Linked DNA regions of Homo sapiens: region 1 is linked to region 2. The links are contacts of gene promoters, found by promoter capture Hi-C in blood cells and fetal thymus (Javierre and others, 2016). All regions are on one chromosome and are shown on one strand. The core of a region is centred on a gene start or on the middle of the fragment in contact, and the rest is flanking DNA. Distances in the headings are between cores, read along the strand shown.

Region 1 (3,054 bases), core at 350-2,849, 950 kb before region 2:
ATGTGAGATTCATCCATGCTGCAGAGTACAACAGAAGTTTAGTTCTTTTAGTTGCTGACTAGTATGCCATTGTACGGATGCATCAGTTTGTTTATCCATTCACTATTTAGGATATTTAGAGGTTTTGGCTAGTTATGACTAACACCACTATAAAGATTTGCATATAAGATAGTGTGTGAATAAAAGTGTTTCTTTCTCTTGGGTAAATACTTAGAGAAGTTGGATTGCTCAATTGTAGTTCAGGTATATGTTTAACTTTGTAAGAAACTGCCTTACTAGGCATGTACCACCAGAGCCTTTTTGCCTGGTCCCAGTCGTTTTGGCGAGCACCCAGTGGAGGTTCATGAAGAAGAGCTTGTGAATGTGAGTAAAGTACCCCTGTGTCTGTGGCTCCCAGAGAGCCACATGATGATGTGACATCATGCTCTTAATGAGCCTCTTCCTGCCCTTTAGGAATCTGGGGAACATGGAGCTGAATCCTTACTGGTTTGTTGCCCAACTGGCATGTCTTTCTCTAGTGTTCTGCCAAGTAATCCTGGGTTCATGTCCTGTCTCATCCAGGGAACTCCTATCTCATCAGATTTTAGTCTATTTGATTGTCATGTAACATCAGTTTTCTGATGGGTTCATGAAAACTTGTGAAATTTTTTGTTTACCTGTGGTCAGAATAAAAGGAATGCCTCTTCCAGTTTCCTCCATCCTCCATGGGAGTTTAGCTGTGCTGAGGTTTTTAATGAGACCACATTACAATTTCTGATGCTCTCAGGCACAATTGCCTTTAAATAAAGTCTTGAGGTAAATGAGCTACTCAGTGAAGGTGAACTTTGGCAGAAACGTCTGAAATTTTTAAATGCAAATTTATCTCTTCCATTTTAACTATTGTGGAGTCCTGAAGAAATATCCTCTGACGTTAACTTTGAGCTTTGTAAAATAATATAAAATGATAAGGAAAGAAGAATTGCTACTATGATCATTGTATATTCAAATCATGGACAGAGCTGGATATTAAAATGAATACGTTTGTACTAATTAACCAGTAGGCTTTTTTCACAAAGCTAGAGAGGAAAACCCATCCTTTTACTGAACTAAATTTGTTGCCTTTTCCTCAAGTTTTCAGTTGCATATGAAAGCTTACTTTTCGTTTCCTTCTATTATTGTTTACCAGATTAGGCATCCATGCTTTGCTGGTGAACTTACACATATTCCTTAAGACACAAACTATTTTTTTTAATCTTACCTTTTTCCTTAACAGAAGCATAGTGGCAGATGTTGTGAGTTATCTGGTATGGTTTGAACATTTGTCTCCACCAAATCTCACATTAAAATTTGTTCCCCAAAGTTGGAGATGGGTCCTGGTGAAAGGTGTTTGGGTCGTGGGGGTGGATCCCCACTTTTCCTCTCTCTTGCCATGTGCTCTTTACACACTGGCTGTCCTTCACCTTGTGCCATGAACAGAAGCAGTCGGAGACCCTCATCAGAAGCAGGTGCTGGTGCCGTGGTTCCTGTATAGTCAGCAGAATCATGAGCCAAATAAACCTCTTTTCGTTATAAATTACCCAGATTTAGGCTTTCTTGCATAGCAACATAAACAGAGGAAGGGATGATCTATGCTTTATTCTCTCTGCCTTTCTTTCTTGATAGGAGAATTCACAATTTTACTTAGTGTTTAATTTTCTCTAAATACTCCAAGACACCTCTTGGATGCAGATCAATCTCTCTAATTGGGAATATGAGGGTCCCCACTATCTATTTCCATCTCAGCCCTCCAATCTCGTTGCTCATCATTCCCTGACTCAAATACCAAAAGGCTAGTGGTACCCTTTCCAAACCATGCTGTTTCTCTTTTTAATGTCTTGCCTCATAACACATGCATTTTCTGCAAAGTCTACTCCTTACCCATTATTAAACATATTTTAAATTTCAGATCTGAAGGCACCTCCTCCAGGAAGACTTGCCTGATTCTCCATGGGCTGTTATGTGCACCTTGAATATACCCTCTTTATCATCCTTGTTGTAACACACATTATGGATTAATCATCTTTTTTTTTCTATCTCTTTCTTTGTTTACTAAGCTTCTTGAATAAAAGGATTGTCTCATTCACCATTATGTTTTTTGCACAGTGCCTGACACGTTCAATATATTTTTCACTTTTGATGTTTCACTTAAAGGCTAGTGCTTTTCCTGAGTGACAAGTCAATGAATTGAGAGATTTAAAAAAAGAAGCCACAGGATGAGAGAAAATATTTGCAAAACACATACCTGAAAAAGGACTATTATCCAAAATGTACAAAGAAGTCTTAAAATTCAACAATAGTAAGCAAACAACCCAATAAATAAATGGGCAAAAGATCTGAAGAGACATCTCATCAAAGAAGATAAGCAGATGGCAAGCAAAACAAAGATAAATAGATGTTCCACATTATATGCCATTAGGAAACTGAAAATTCAAACAACGAGACACCTCTACACACCTATTAAAATGACTTAAATTCAGAACACTGACAACACCAAATACTGACAAGAAGGAAGCGCGAAAGGAAATTCTACTCATTGCTGGTGATTGCAAAATAGTACAGCTGCTTTGGAAGACAGTTTGGCAGTTTCTTACAAAGCTAAACAGAGTTTTACCACATGATCCAGCAATTCACTCTGTGATATTTACCCAAATGACTTAAAATTTATGCCCACACAGTGACCTGCATATGAACATTTATAGCAGCTGTATTTATAATTGCCAAAAAAATGGAAGCAACCAAGCTGTCTTTCAATAAGTGAATGAATAAATAGCCTGTTATATATACAGGCAATGGACTATTATTTAGCACTAAAGAGAAAGGAGTTATCAAGCCATAGAAGGACATAGATAAAACGTAAGTGTCTATTACCAAGTGAAAGAAGGCAATGTGAAAGCTCTACATACTATATGATTGTAACTATGTGATATTCTGGGAAAGAGAAAACTGTATAGAGACAGTAAAAAAATAAAATAAAAAAGTGATTGCCTGGTGTGTGGGGGTACAGGGAGAGAAGGAGGCAGAAATAAATAGGTGGAA
Region 2 (2,863 bases), core at 339-2,838:
CTGGATCAGGAAGAGCTTCACTAGTTACCCAAGCAAGTGATGAGTTTAACAGTTTGGTGGATTTTGAAATTTTAATTTAACTTGAATTTTATGTGTCATACTCTATTATCCTTTTTCAAGAGAAAACAGAATGCTATTATTCACAGCCTTGTTTTTTAACACAGAAAAATAAAAAAAGGAAAAATGCTTCAAATTTCACTTGACTTGCAAGACTAAAACTTCACAAACTAAAATGACAAATGTATGATTTGTAAAATACAGTTACAATTAGGTTTTTTTTTTCATAACAATCTGTGGTGAAATGTAACGGGAAAGCAGACACTTATTTTAAAGATGCAATTTTAAAAATAAAATTCAAAACTTAGGAAATAGAAAAGCACTCAAGTTTTAGCAGGGATTTTAAAATGTCATCTACAAACTACAAATACAGGTAATCAGTGACACCAAATAAAGTATTTTGAAAGAGTTAAGGTAATGTATATTTCAAAAAGCCGTTACCAGGCTTTCTGTAAGTCCCTTGCAAGAATTCCACTTTAAGCATTGTAGTCTCAAATATTATATCAGGCAAACCTAGGCATTTGCTATATTCTTTTTAAAAATTTAATGGCAGACATCACCCTAGGTTCCCTAACGTTTAAGGAGAACCTCTCCTTCTAATGATTCTCTCACACAGCTTATTGGAACAGGAGATTGTATTTACTAACTAGATCAGGAAATCTCAAACCATACAGAGGAAATCAGAAACCGGTCACTCACGGCTACCACAGTGACTGCTTCTGAGTGTGGTTCAAGCTCAGTCCAGGACAGGCAGATGAAAGGACAATCTTAAAGGTGACTCTGGAGAGCAAGTGAGACTGTAACCCCAAAACTTTCTAGGATAATTCATTTTCACTTCTACCCAGTCAAAACAACTATTGACATCATCACTGAAGTGCTTAAGTCTACCTGGAGGTGGCGTGGAGCAGAGTGAGCATTCCAGAGTCCCAGACAAGAGGAGATGTGCACGAAACACTATCTTCCTGTCAGACACCTGTGCCCACTGCCCCAAGCACTGCCCCTCTGGTCCTTCATCAGCCTTTGCGCTGTGTCCCTCCTGCTCCTGCAATGGGCCACAGCACAGAAGGAAAGAGTCCTCCGGAATGGGTGACTGTATAGAAAGCAATCGAATCTTTAATCACTTTTCCTACTTTACACTTCACGCAGTTCTTATTCCTATCCCTGCTTCATGCCTTTCCAAGAGAATGTTAGAGGCCTCTTTCAATTTTCATTTCTCAGTCTTTTCCCCATCCCGTTCAGTACCCTAAACTTCGTCAGTTATTTAAAATAACCTTTTACCCCCTCCTCCCCTTCCCAGGATGTTTCAACTTCTCTGGCTCTCTTCCCCATCCTTACCTCCTCCAATTCTTTCATCCTGGTCCTGGCCTCTTAAACCCGCCAGGGGCTGCCCTTTGCCTGTCTTTTCTCCTCCCATCCCTCTCTGAACCCTTTCACCTCATCCATTCCCTTGTCAGGCTCTCCAGATTCCCGGGCTGTTTGCTGGTGAGAAATCTTTGCTGCAGCGAGGACCGGAGTCCCCCGCGCGCAGCCCAGTGGCAGAAGAGGGCTAGGCTGAGAGGGAAGCCAGGACTGTAGGAGAGGGAGGCAGCCCGTCCTCCTCACGAACCTGCAAGGATGCGGCAGGGGCCTGGGGGCATGGGGAGGTACTAACCCCCCGGAGCCCCCGATTGGGGCTTGCAGACCTGGCCCGTGGGCGGATTTTCTGCCTAGCGCAGCCGAGAAGCAGAGGTGCCAGGAAAACCAAGAGAGGGGCGCTGGGGGTGCCCATCCCCAGAGTCGGTCCCTCTGCGAACCGAGGAAGAAAAGAGGAGGGAGTCAGCGAGTGGTCAGAAGGGAAAACCTGACACCAGACTGGCTCCGGAGCGTCCGGGAGACTGGGGCGCTCCGGTGAGCACCCAGGGGGTGAAGCCAGCCGAGCGGTGGGCGAGGGGCGTGCGGAGGGAGTGCGCGCTCGAGGAGGGGACGCCAGGAGGGCAGCGATGCTCCGGGCTGGTGCAGGCTTGCTGGGGGATGTCGGCTGATGCGAGCTGGAGAGCGCGTGTGGCGGCCGCGGCGCCAGTGTTTGTGTGTATGTGAGAAAGCAAGGGGCGAGCGCGAGTGCGAGTGAGGCAAAGATAGAGCGCATGTCTCATCCCTGCGAGCAGCCACTAGACGCTCCACCACCATCTTTTGCATGTGCAACATTTGCAGCCGGACAGAAAACCTCTCCCAGGGCTATGGAGACTGCGGGAAAAATCTGGCGGCTCGCGATGGATTGCTAAGGAGAACTAGTCATAATCTTAAACCACCGAAACCTCTTTCCTTTTTTTTCTTTCTTTTCTTTCTTTTCTTTTTTTTTTTTTTTTTTTGGTTGATTTTAATTTTAGCGCCATCGTCTTCAATGCTTCTCTGAACAGCCTTTAGGAAGAGTGCGAGAGAAAGAGAGAGAGCGCGCGCCAGGGAGAGGAGAAAAGAAGATGAGGATTATTTCCAGACAGATTGTCTTGTTATTTTCTGGATTTTGGGGACTCGCCATGGGAGCCTTTCCGAGCAGCGTGCAAATAGGTAAGGTGTGCTCCGATGGGGTGTGCATGTGGCTGGTTGTAGCAGATATCCGAAAGTGAGTTAAATGAGTTGCTGATAAGCAATTCAGGGAAACCTTCAGCAGTTCCCTTCCCCTCTGTTTCCCTCCTCTTCCTTTCTCTCCTTTGCAAAAAGACTTCCTCTTTAGTGCAGGTTCCGTTGGAATACACCCAGGGCAGCCCACCCATGCGTTCTCAGCCCATAGCCCTATTTCCACCTTTACCTATAGTCGCTTAAGTAGGAT

What was found. The method cuts DNA at HindIII sites, captures the fragments that hold promoters and counts their contacts. A CHiCAGO score of 5 or more calls a contact.
Region 1: a fragment that was not itself captured here is called in contact with the fragment with the promoter of GRIA4 in region 2 in 2 of 17 cell types (monocytes and M2 macrophages); the score reaches 6.4 in monocytes.

What each region holds. Positions count from the first base shown.
Region 1 is chr11:104,663,256-104,666,309 of GRCh38, forward strand. No RefSeq gene overlaps it. Among named protein-coding and RNA genes, the nearest start is that of LINC02552, 55 kb to the left of the region's middle. The HindIII fragment of the contact is 942 bases long and covers 1,129-2,070 here.
Region 2 is chr11:105,608,485-105,611,347 of GRCh38, forward strand. It overlaps GRIA4 (glutamate ionotropic receptor AMPA type subunit 4), which reads left to right and starts at 1,589. Exons shown (of 17, transcript NM_000829.4): 1 at 1,589-1,944; 2 at 2,424-2,601. The coding sequence starts at 2,514. RefSeq lists a silencer at 2,565-2,765. The HindIII fragment of the contact is 4,294 bases long and covers 1-2,863 here.